3 separate regions of the Homo sapiens genome follow, and all the other regions are linked to region 2. Evidence: promoter capture Hi-C in human tissues and cell types (Jung and others, 2019). All regions are on one chromosome and are shown on one strand. Each heading gives the region's core, a stretch centred on a gene start or on the middle of the fragment in contact. The rest is flanking DNA. Distances are from core to core; before and after follow the strand shown.

The links. The method cuts DNA at HindIII sites, captures the fragments that hold promoters and counts their contacts. A contact is called where the count stands out against the background at its distance.
Region 1: a fragment that was not itself captured here is called in contact with the fragment with the promoter of FAM133B in region 2 in 5 of the 25 tissues and cell types used here (IMR-90 fibroblasts, aorta, hippocampus and 2 more).
Region 3: a fragment that was not itself captured here is called in contact with the fragment with the promoter of FAM133B in region 2 in 3 of the 25 tissues and cell types used here (bladder, hippocampus and lymphoblastoid cells).

What each region holds. Positions count from the first base shown.
Region 1 is chr7:92,788,218-92,791,222 of GRCh38, reverse strand. All of the region lies in intron 2 of CDK6 (cyclin dependent kinase 6), which reads left to right. Among named protein-coding and RNA genes, the nearest start is that of CDK6-AS1, 47 kb to the left of the region's middle. The HindIII fragment of the contact is 9,279 bases long and covers 1-3,005 here.
Region 2 is chr7:92,589,097-92,592,139 of GRCh38, reverse strand. FAM133B (family with sequence similarity 133 member B) reads left to right here and starts at 1,750. Exons shown (of 11, transcript NM_152789.4): 1 at 1,750-1,872. The coding sequence starts at 1,849. LOC105375397 (a long non-coding RNA gene) reads left to right here. Exons shown (of 3, transcript XR_927744.3): 3 at 1-120. RefSeq lists enhancers at 1,593-1,872, 1,963-2,022. The HindIII fragment of the contact is 9,030 bases long and covers 1-3,043 here.
Region 3 is chr7:92,722,563-92,726,077 of GRCh38, reverse strand. It overlaps CDK6 (cyclin dependent kinase 6), which reads left to right. Exons shown (of 8, transcript NM_001145306.2): 4 at 285-452. Among named protein-coding and RNA genes, the nearest start is that of CDK6-AS1, 110 kb to the left of the region's middle. RefSeq lists an enhancer at 1,643-2,199. The HindIII fragment of the contact is 3,912 bases long and covers 150-3,515 here.

The DNA.
Region 1 (3,005 bases), core at 160-2,659, 200 kb before region 2:
AGCATGTGAGTCATCCTTGGCTTCTCCTTCCCCATCCCTCCACCCCCGCCACATTTAGACACTTAGCAAGTCCTGCCAACTCAACCTCCTAAATATTTCTGGAATCTGTACTCTCCTCTCCATCCTTGCTGCCAATTCCTTAGAACAGGCCTTCTTTACTTTCCCTGTACTACTGCAGCAACAGTCTCCTTACAGGTGGTCTTACCACACTTCCCCTTACCCATGTCATCAGATTGGGCTCTTTGAAAACCATAAAAAATAGTTGCCCACTTTCCAGAGGAACAAAGTTCTTTGTAGCATACAAAGTTTCTCTCCAATGGGGCTTCTTGCGGTGCTCCTGCTCACACTTTCTTTGGTTTCAAGTGCCCTTTCTTTGCCACTTGCTTGGGTAACTCTTGATACTCTGACAGTTAAATTGTCATTTCTTCTACAAAGTTTTCCTCCACATATGGATGGGTTGCTTCTTTTATCATTTCTTAAAATTCCATAGGTATATACATAAGAGACAGAAAGATGTATGTGTATGTGTGTGTGCGGATTTGAATAAGTATATGTGTATACACTTATGTGTATCTGTGTATACCGCAGACATACATACCTCAGCATTTACAGAATAGTTGATACTTTGTCTACTTTTCCCACTAGACTCTGAATAACTTAAGAAATTTTATTTTACCCTTTGATTTTTCTATACCTAGCATCTAATCTAATGCTTAGAAAATAACAAATATTTAATAAACGTTTGCTGGTTAAATGCATTTGTTCAATGCTATCGATCAGATTTTTACTGTGGAAGGCTCACTGACCAGAGTAGGGGATGAGTACAAAGAGTCTCAGGGCATTTGGGAAACAGGATAAAGGCCCTTTGTAGAAAACTGGCCAAGGGTGTTGAGTGCCTGAGCTCAGGGAAGTGGCAGTGGATGGAAAAATATTTAGGTGGTGGAATTGGTGGTTGATTGAACATGTGGGGAAATGAAACAATCTACGATTATTTGAAGGCTTCTGGGTTTAGAAAATTATTTGGATGGGGGTGTGATTCACCAAGGGGAATGAACTGTGTTCTAGACATTTTGAAATTGAGATGTTCAGAGTATTGGTTGAAGTTGTCCAAGAGATAACTGGGTATGGAGTTTGGAGAAAGTACTATTTTGGAGAGAGAAGTTGGAGATTTACCAACCTCTAGGTACTCTTTGAAGCTGTGACCATAAAGGAGATAACTGTCATCTGTTGCTGATTAGATTGTCATAGTGGTGGTGGTACATTGGGGAAGAAGAGAATAGGTCCAGGAGATCTTGATATTGAAGGTCCAGATCAAGAAGGAGAGAGGCCTGTGAAGGTTTCTAATTTAAATCTTGGTTCTGCCTCTTGTCTCTGTTCTATGATGCTTGAACAAATTATTCTATGAATCTTAGCTTCTTCATCTGTAAAATGAGAGTAATAGTATATACTTTATAAGGATATTGAAAGGATTCAATAAGTTTCCATATATTAAATCCCTGCCACAGTCCCAGGCTCACTGTAGGGGCTCTTAAGTGGTAAATTCAAGAAAATGTTCCTCAAGATATGAGCAGTTTCAAAACAAAGAATTTTTTAATGGTTACCCCAGAGATTACAATTAACATCTTCAACTTATAACAATCCAGTTTGAGTTGATACTATTTCAGCTTTAATAGTATATAAAACTTTTTTCTGTACAGTTCTGTCCTTTCTCCTTCATGTTGTTATTGTCACAAATTACATGTTCATACGTTGTGTGGCCATTAACGTAGACTTATAATTACTGTCCTATGCATTTGTTTTTTAAATCATATTTTAAAAGTTACAAACCACTTACCTATGTAGTTAGTTACCTTTGCCAGTGTTCTTTGTTTCTTCATATGGCTCCATGTTACTGTCTAATGTTCTTTTATTTCAGCCTGAAGGACTCCCTTTAGCATTTCCTGTAGGGCAGATCTATTGGCAAAAAACTCCCTCAGCTTTTGTTTATCTGAGAATGTCTTAATTTTGCCTTCATCTTTGAAGGATGGTTCTGCCAGATATAGAATTCTTGGTTAACAGATTTCTTTTTTCTTCCAGCACTTCTTTATTTATTTATTAGAAACAGAGTGTCACTCTTACATCCAGGCTAGAGTGCAGTGGTGCAGTCATAGTTCACTGTAGCCTCAAACTTCTGGGCTCAAATGATCTTTCTGTCTCAGCCTCCTGAGTAGCTAGGACTACAAGCATGTGCCACCACGACCAGTTAATTTAAAAAAAAAAAATCTTTTGTAGAGATGAGGGGGTTCTTTGTGTTACCCAGGCAGGTCTCAAACTCCTAGATTCAAGTGGTCCTCTTGCCTAGGCCTCCCAAAGTGTTGAGATTACATGCATGAGCCACCATGCCTGGCTGCTTCCAGCACTTCCAAATTGCCATCCCACTGCCTTCTGCCCTCCATAGTTTCTGATGAGAAGTAGTTGTTCATCTTATTGCAGATCCCTTGTGTGTGATGAGTTGCTTCTCTCTTGCTGCTTTCAAGATTCTCTCTTTGTCTTTGGTTTTCATAGTTTAATTACAATGTGCCTCATTGTGGATCTTTTGGTCTCATCTGCATGTACTTAGTAAACACTCAAATAAGTGATCATAATAATGGTGCAGAATTAAATGATTATAATTTAATGGTAACAGTAATGACCATGAATCATCTACCAGTTAAACATAATATTGTGCTTAAAAAGTCAAGAAAATGTTCAATGCATGTTACCAAGAATTCCACTAAAACTTTAATTTTAAAAAATAGTTTAGGGAATTAAGATGGGTAAGAATCAATTATCTAAAATATTCACTTACATGGGACAACCAGATGACTAACAGATTATTAGTATATGAGGTGTTCCTGTGGTTCTTTGCAAAAGAAAACGTCTGCCTTGAAATAGATAAACTTGCAGTTACATTTACAAATTATCTCCCACAGTTTTCATTACCGTTAACACCATGAAACATTTTCCTTATTATCTGAGATACTTCT
Region 2 (3,043 bases), core at 501-3,000:
TTTCATCCAGGAGGGGTTGTGTACACTCGCAGAGAGAGAGAGACTTCTAAAGGAAACACAACCTTTCTGTTGACTTATACCATATTTTTAAAAATCTCTGTGTTCTGTACAATCAGCCAACCAAGGAAGTGAAAGGTAAGAAGGAGCTGAAGAGGGAAAAAAAAAACTATATTCTCTCACAGGTATTATCATGCTTATCATGTTGGAGTATTAAAAATAATATCTGTCAAATGCCTAGAATATTTAAAACATGAAAAATAAGCCAGGAAAGAAAGAATAACTTAATATTAATAGGTTCTCCTCTTCCTCTTGTGTATAAAAAGAAGCCTGTCTTCAGTCAGAGTCCCCAGCTTAAGTCGGGGGTAATGGAGGAGGAGGAGAAATGAGAGACTGGAGGCCTCATTTTGGAAAGTGGGTTACTGAGGAAGAATCAACACTTAGTAGGGAGCAGAACCACCAAGGACTGCATGTGAGAGTTTGGAAAAGTTTTGAGACAGAAGATGGTAGTTGGGAGCATCTGTCATATAGTGTAGCATGAAAAATGCAGGGAGGGAGGGAGGCAGAGATCGGGAAAGATGATTTTAAAGCATGTTCTTGTATGTAATTAGTGTAATTCCCATTTTGCCATTTCCAAGAGTCCGGAGAAGATCCTAATTGATTTTCAACTACTTCCTAATGATACTTGCTAAGATGAACCCAGAGGGGTCGCTTTATCTATAAATACTTACTAAATATGATTATCTTCTCTGGAGCCCAGATCATCTTCCTTAAAGTTGCAGTGCAGTAGTGCCAATATTACGATATGCTATGCAGTAAAGTTGGCCCTGTGTGTGTTTATTGCCCTTACGAGTTTATAAACAGGCTCCTTGACGATAGGGATTTTTCTTAATCATCTTTGTGCCCTACCCAGCTCCAGCTTCCAGCCACCCAGTTAGTGAAAACTGTACAAACTACATGTTCAAAAATTAGTGTGAAATGAATGCACAGGTGATGAATGAATGGGATTGAAATTAAAGGGTGATTTCGTTAGCAGCGTCTATGACAGCACTGCCTTTCCCCCCACCAGCTGATGGGCTCCGTGAGGGACCAAGGCTCTTTGGTCCTCACTTTGTCCCCAGCACTTGCACTCTGTCAAGCACAAAATAAGCATCGGGAGAATCTTTGTGTCCCCTCGAATGAGTATTTCAGTGTATCAAGAATGGAAGAAAGGCCAAGCGCAGTGGCTCATGCCTGTAATCCCAGCACTTTGGGTCGAGGCGGGCGGATCACTTGAGGTCAGGAGTTATAGACCAGCCTGGCCAACGTGGTAAAACCCTGTCTCTACTAAAAATACAAAAAATTTAGCCCGGCGTGTTGACGGCCGCCTGTAATCTCAGCTACTCGGGATGCTGAGGCAGGAAAATCGCTTGAACCCGGGAGGTGGAGGCTGCAGTGAGCCTAGATCGTGCCACTGCACTCCAGCCTGGGCGACGGAGCGAGAGTCTGTCTAAAAAAAAAAAAAAAAAAAAAAAAAAAAAAAAGAATGGAAGAAAGCAAAACAATCCAAGGCCAAACTGAAGCGAGCTGCCTTGGTGGGGCTCCGGTGCAGAAGCGCAGCGTCGCCTGCTCTTGGGTGCCTAATGAACGACCGGACTCCTGCAGGCGCTCCGCCAACTGCAGCGATCTCTGGAGCCGGCCTGTCCTCCACAGAGATAGGGGGCGCTGTAGCAGAGCGCGGCCGTCGAGTCCGCGTGGTGCCGCTCTCTAGGCGGAGTGGGGAGGCGGCAAGAGGACCTGCGGCAGGCCCTCTTCGGCAGTCTCTCCGGCCCGGTTTCCCTCGGCGTGCTACTGTGCGCTCGATCCAGCACCATGGGGAAGCGGGACAATCGGGTGGTGAGTACTCAGCCGGGAAAACAGTGGGGCGACGCAGGGCCCGGCGGCAGGACAGCGAGAACCCTCGCTGTTCCCGGCCGGGCCGGAGGGCAAGCGGCAGCCCTCAGACGTGGGGCCTGGAGACCCAGCACCCTCCGCCGATCCCAGATGCGCGTGCGCCGCGCACGCAGTTGGCGCTTTAGGGTTCCCAGCTCTCTCTTGCCCGCCCCTTTTTTCTTCCCTCACCTCGTCGCTCTTTCTGGCGCTGCTGGTTTGCACTCTTGCCTGCTGTACGCGGGCCCCCAGTGCCCACTTAGAACCGCGAGGGCTCGGGGAACCCCCCCCACACCTGGCCCCGCCATGTAACTCCGAAGACTTAGGCCCTTGGACGCATCCGACTCACCCGCCCCTTGGTATCGGCCGCCCCAGGTCCGCACCCCTCTCCTGCGCACCCAAGTGGGAGGGAGGCACAGAGGCCTCGACGCGGTCCCTGTGCCGGAGAGCCAGCAGCGCGCCTGGTTTTAGCGACAAGCAGGCTCCCGTTTGAAAATGGGATGGCAGCATTTGCTTTCGTGTCTCCAGCGCCCTGTAGGACCTGGCCCCCATAGACACTGTGAGGGAATGAATGGCGTGAAAATAGTTGGCTTTCGAGTCCAACACAAAACTGGAATGTCAGTTTTGTTCCGTCGGAAGTTGGGTGACCTAGAACAAGTTACTTTTCTTCTCTGTGCCGTCGTTTATAAAAGGGGATCATTATTATCTACAACCTTACAGATTAATTGAAATCACAAAAGGCAAGATGTGTGAGCGAGTACTGGGCATGAAAATTATTACTCTAGTGAATGAGATAAAAGAGATGCATAAATAACTTACAGCAGAAAGAGTAGGAAATGGTCCTTGATAGTTGTTAGAGATTCTAAAGGCATTCAAAAGAAAAGGTGCTTTTGAGAAGCGGAGATGGGAGGAAAGTATTCTAGACCGCTGGGGCGGGGAGGGGGCTGAAAAACTCAGGTTATGAATCAGATTGAATGAGTAGTAAACATAATGAAATAACAATAAGCTTAGGTTGCAGCCTGACAATTTCTGGGCTTGCCTGTGACAAAGTTTTAGCCACTGAGTAGCAAAATGAGGAAAATGCACGTAAAACGAATGTGCTACGTTTCTTGAACTCGCTTTTTTATTCAACAATTAT
Region 3 (3,515 bases), core at 856-3,355, 130 kb before region 2:
TTGGCAGATATCCTTCCAGAATGTTTCCTATTCCATCAAAAACTATTTTAAAATTGTCCTTTCATTAATAAAATACAGGTTGAGAGTGAAATTTTTTGCAGTGTTCTTGAAAGTGTGGGAGTGGAAAGGCAGGAAGGGAGACAATTCACTCATTCAGCCAATACCTGTCAAATGCCTGCCGCATGCCAAGCAGCCACAAAATGCTAAGGATTCGGCGTCCAGCATAGCAAATGCTCAACTTCCGTTTTGAGTGTTTACTGATTTTCTTTTTTTAATTTTATTAGGATATGATGTTTCAGCTTCTCCGAGGTCTGGACTTTCTTCATTCACACCGAGTAGTGCATCGCGATCTAAAACCACAGAACATTCTGGTGACCAGCAGCGGACAAATAAAACTCGCTGACTTCGGCCTTGCCCGCATCTATAGTTTCCAGATGGCTCTAACCTCAGTGGTGAGTGAGAGAGTGCTGTCCTTTTATTAAACTTATTTTTCCTATTTTGAATGACAGTCTGTCCCTCTTCCATGTCTCTAATGTTAGTACTGCCCATGACTAGTTGGTGGATAGAATGTCTTTGCCCATTTTTATATGGCAGTGGGTAGGCAGAAAGCATTCTGCTTACAGCTACAGTCACATCCAGCCTGGGCTTGTTGTGGACAGGATCCATTGCAGAAATAGCCTGTTGCATCTTAGCCACTGGACAGGAATCAGTTACAAGTTTCCAAATGCTTTCTGCCATAACCACTGTTTTCAGAGCTGTATGTACAATGCCTAGGGAACACACAGCTCAAGGTCAGGGAAGAAAGAGCACGAGCAACGTTGACCTGTCTGCAGCATCATGGTTTTGAGAAACAGAGTGCCTACACAGGTTTGTTAATGCACTCATCTGAAGCTATGGTGCCAGCTGTAAAGAAGAAATCAAATTCACAGTGAACTTGGATGATGCATGAACGTAGAGCACCGCCATGCCAGGTGAAGGCTCATATAACCCTGAATAGAAAGAGCGAACCCAACGGCCCTGTTTTGGCAAAAAATAACAGTTATGATACCCTGTTTCTTTTTGCCATTCAGCTGCAAAACCATAATAGCTATTGACATTGGTTAGCTTCTATTTCTCCATATAGTTCATTATTTCTCAGATGGATTTTTGTGAAATTCTGCACCCCAAATACAAAAAGAGCAGCCTGGAAATAGGTATTAATACCCTTCTCTTTGAAAGACCTGTTTTGCATACAGTAAATTCATGCCTTACGTACAGTAAATTAAATAAATAATATATAGCAAATTAAGTCTTAAGAAAAAGAATTTTAAAAAAGAAAATATCTTTGTATATTCAAAGAAATAAAAAAAAATAATCCGTATTGTCCATCTTTAGCCTCAAAGTGGTTCTCACATCAGGGACAGCATGGCCCTGTTGTTAAGTAATGATTGGCAACATCTTTGGTCATTCTGCACAGCAAAAAATTGTTTCCCTAAATTTCAGTAATACTACAGCTGATAAGTAGAAATTCAAGAGAGGAGTTAGAAATTCTCTGAGACAGATAACTTGCCTTAGGAAAAAATCCAATTTATAAAAGTGTTCCCCACCCCCTGCCCCCAGTCAAAATAGGGGTGCTACCACCTAGACACGTAAGACCAGTTACTTTCCAAACATTATAGACTTTTCCTAGGGCATCAGAACTTTTGATGCAGAGGATTCCTTGGAAAATGTTGCCATTGTTAGAAGATAAATCCTACTCATTTCCTCTTTGCCCAGCATACACCATTGCTTTAGAGGAGAAATGGCACGAGTTGATGTTTAAAAGATAGGCCTCAGCTTTGAGCACGGTCAAGCAAGCCCTTGTATTCTTATGTAATCACACCAGAAAGGGCTGAGTCTGTGTATTTCCCCAGTGGGAAGGGTGAGGTAGGCTTTGAGTTTCCCTAGGAAGTTGTTGCGCATGTTGTTTTGGGGCCCTGGGGAGAAGCTTGAATAGGCTTTGTGATCCAGAGAGTCATCAGGGGAGTAGATGGAAGGAACTTGTCTCCTTGGGTACGTTAATTGAAGGAAGGATAAGCTGTAACTGAGATGGACGCTTTTATTTTAATCCCCCCAAATGGGCACTAATAACCATAAATAAAAACAGGAAACCCAGTTGGTTTGTGTTTGATTTTTTTTTTTTTTTTTTGCTTATTAAATTTGAGCTTGTGCGTAACATCAATTAACATTCCATTCTTGCTGAAAGTTGATATGTTCAAACAGGAAAATGTAGACAAATTATTTCATAGAGGAAAAGGAGAAAGGCAGTCATAAATACACAATTTTTCAGTATCTAGTTTATACTGCATGCTTTATATTTCCTATAGTGACATAAGTAAAACATGTTAGCAGCTGAGAAGGATTCTAAAACAAAAATCAGACTTTATTGGAAAGAGTGACGGTTGGAATTTAATGGTAATAATAAAGGGTATGTTCCTACAGGGTACTGCATTTTAAAATTTCCCCACTCTTTTGTATTTTTCTATTTAAAGGAAATACCCATTTAATATAGTAATGCGTCGATTTATATACACATGGTGACATAAAAACTTGGAATCATAGTTTTTTAGACTGAACTGGTATGTATTTTTAGTGTCTCTTGAAGAGAAAAAGACTACACTCCTCTTCCTGGAAATACACATTTTTTAGTGGGTTATGTCATACAGGAACTGAGAATCAACTTAATTTGTGGAATGTTAAAGGAATTACAAGTTAACTGATTCAAAACTGACATCTTAAAACTATGAGAAATGCTAGTATTTTACTTACCTTGCAAAGCCTGACTCCAGAGGTACCCTTTCTAGTATCCCCTTCAGAAATTAATTTCTTTTTCCTCTCTGTTTCCAGAGTAATATTTTGGGTTTTTTTGTTTGTTTTTGTTTTTGAGACAGAGTTTCACTCTGTTGCCCAGGCTGGAGGGCAGTGGCCCTATCTCAGCTCACTGCAACCTCTGCCCTCCGAGTTCAAGCGATTCTCGTGTCTCAGCCTCCCAAGTAGCTGGGATTACAGGCCACCCCAGGCTAATTTTTGTATTTTTAGTAGAGGCAGGGTTTTGCCATGTTGGCCAGGCTGGTTTTGAACTCCTGACCTCAAGTAATCCGTCCTCCTCAGCCTCCCAAAGTGCTGGGATTACAGGCATAAGCCACTGTGCCCAGCCTATAATACTGTTTTCTGTCTTGTTTTTAGTTATTTGGGAATTTTATTTATCAGGCCATAAGTTCCTCGAAGGCAGATGCTCATCTTATTCAGCCCTAACACACAGTGCCTTGTTTATTTTGATAGGCACTCAGGAAATATTTTTCAGTGAATAAATTGACAAATGCTGACTTGCAGATATAAGCAGTTGAGTCATAACAGGAATAGAGAAGGAGCTATGTTATACATTTAATGGTCTCATTTGATGTGTGTCAATATTCCTCATAGCTACCTGGTAATATTAAGCTGAAGGACTTACTCCATATACCTTAAAATGGCTGAGTCCATTTTGCACCCTAGTC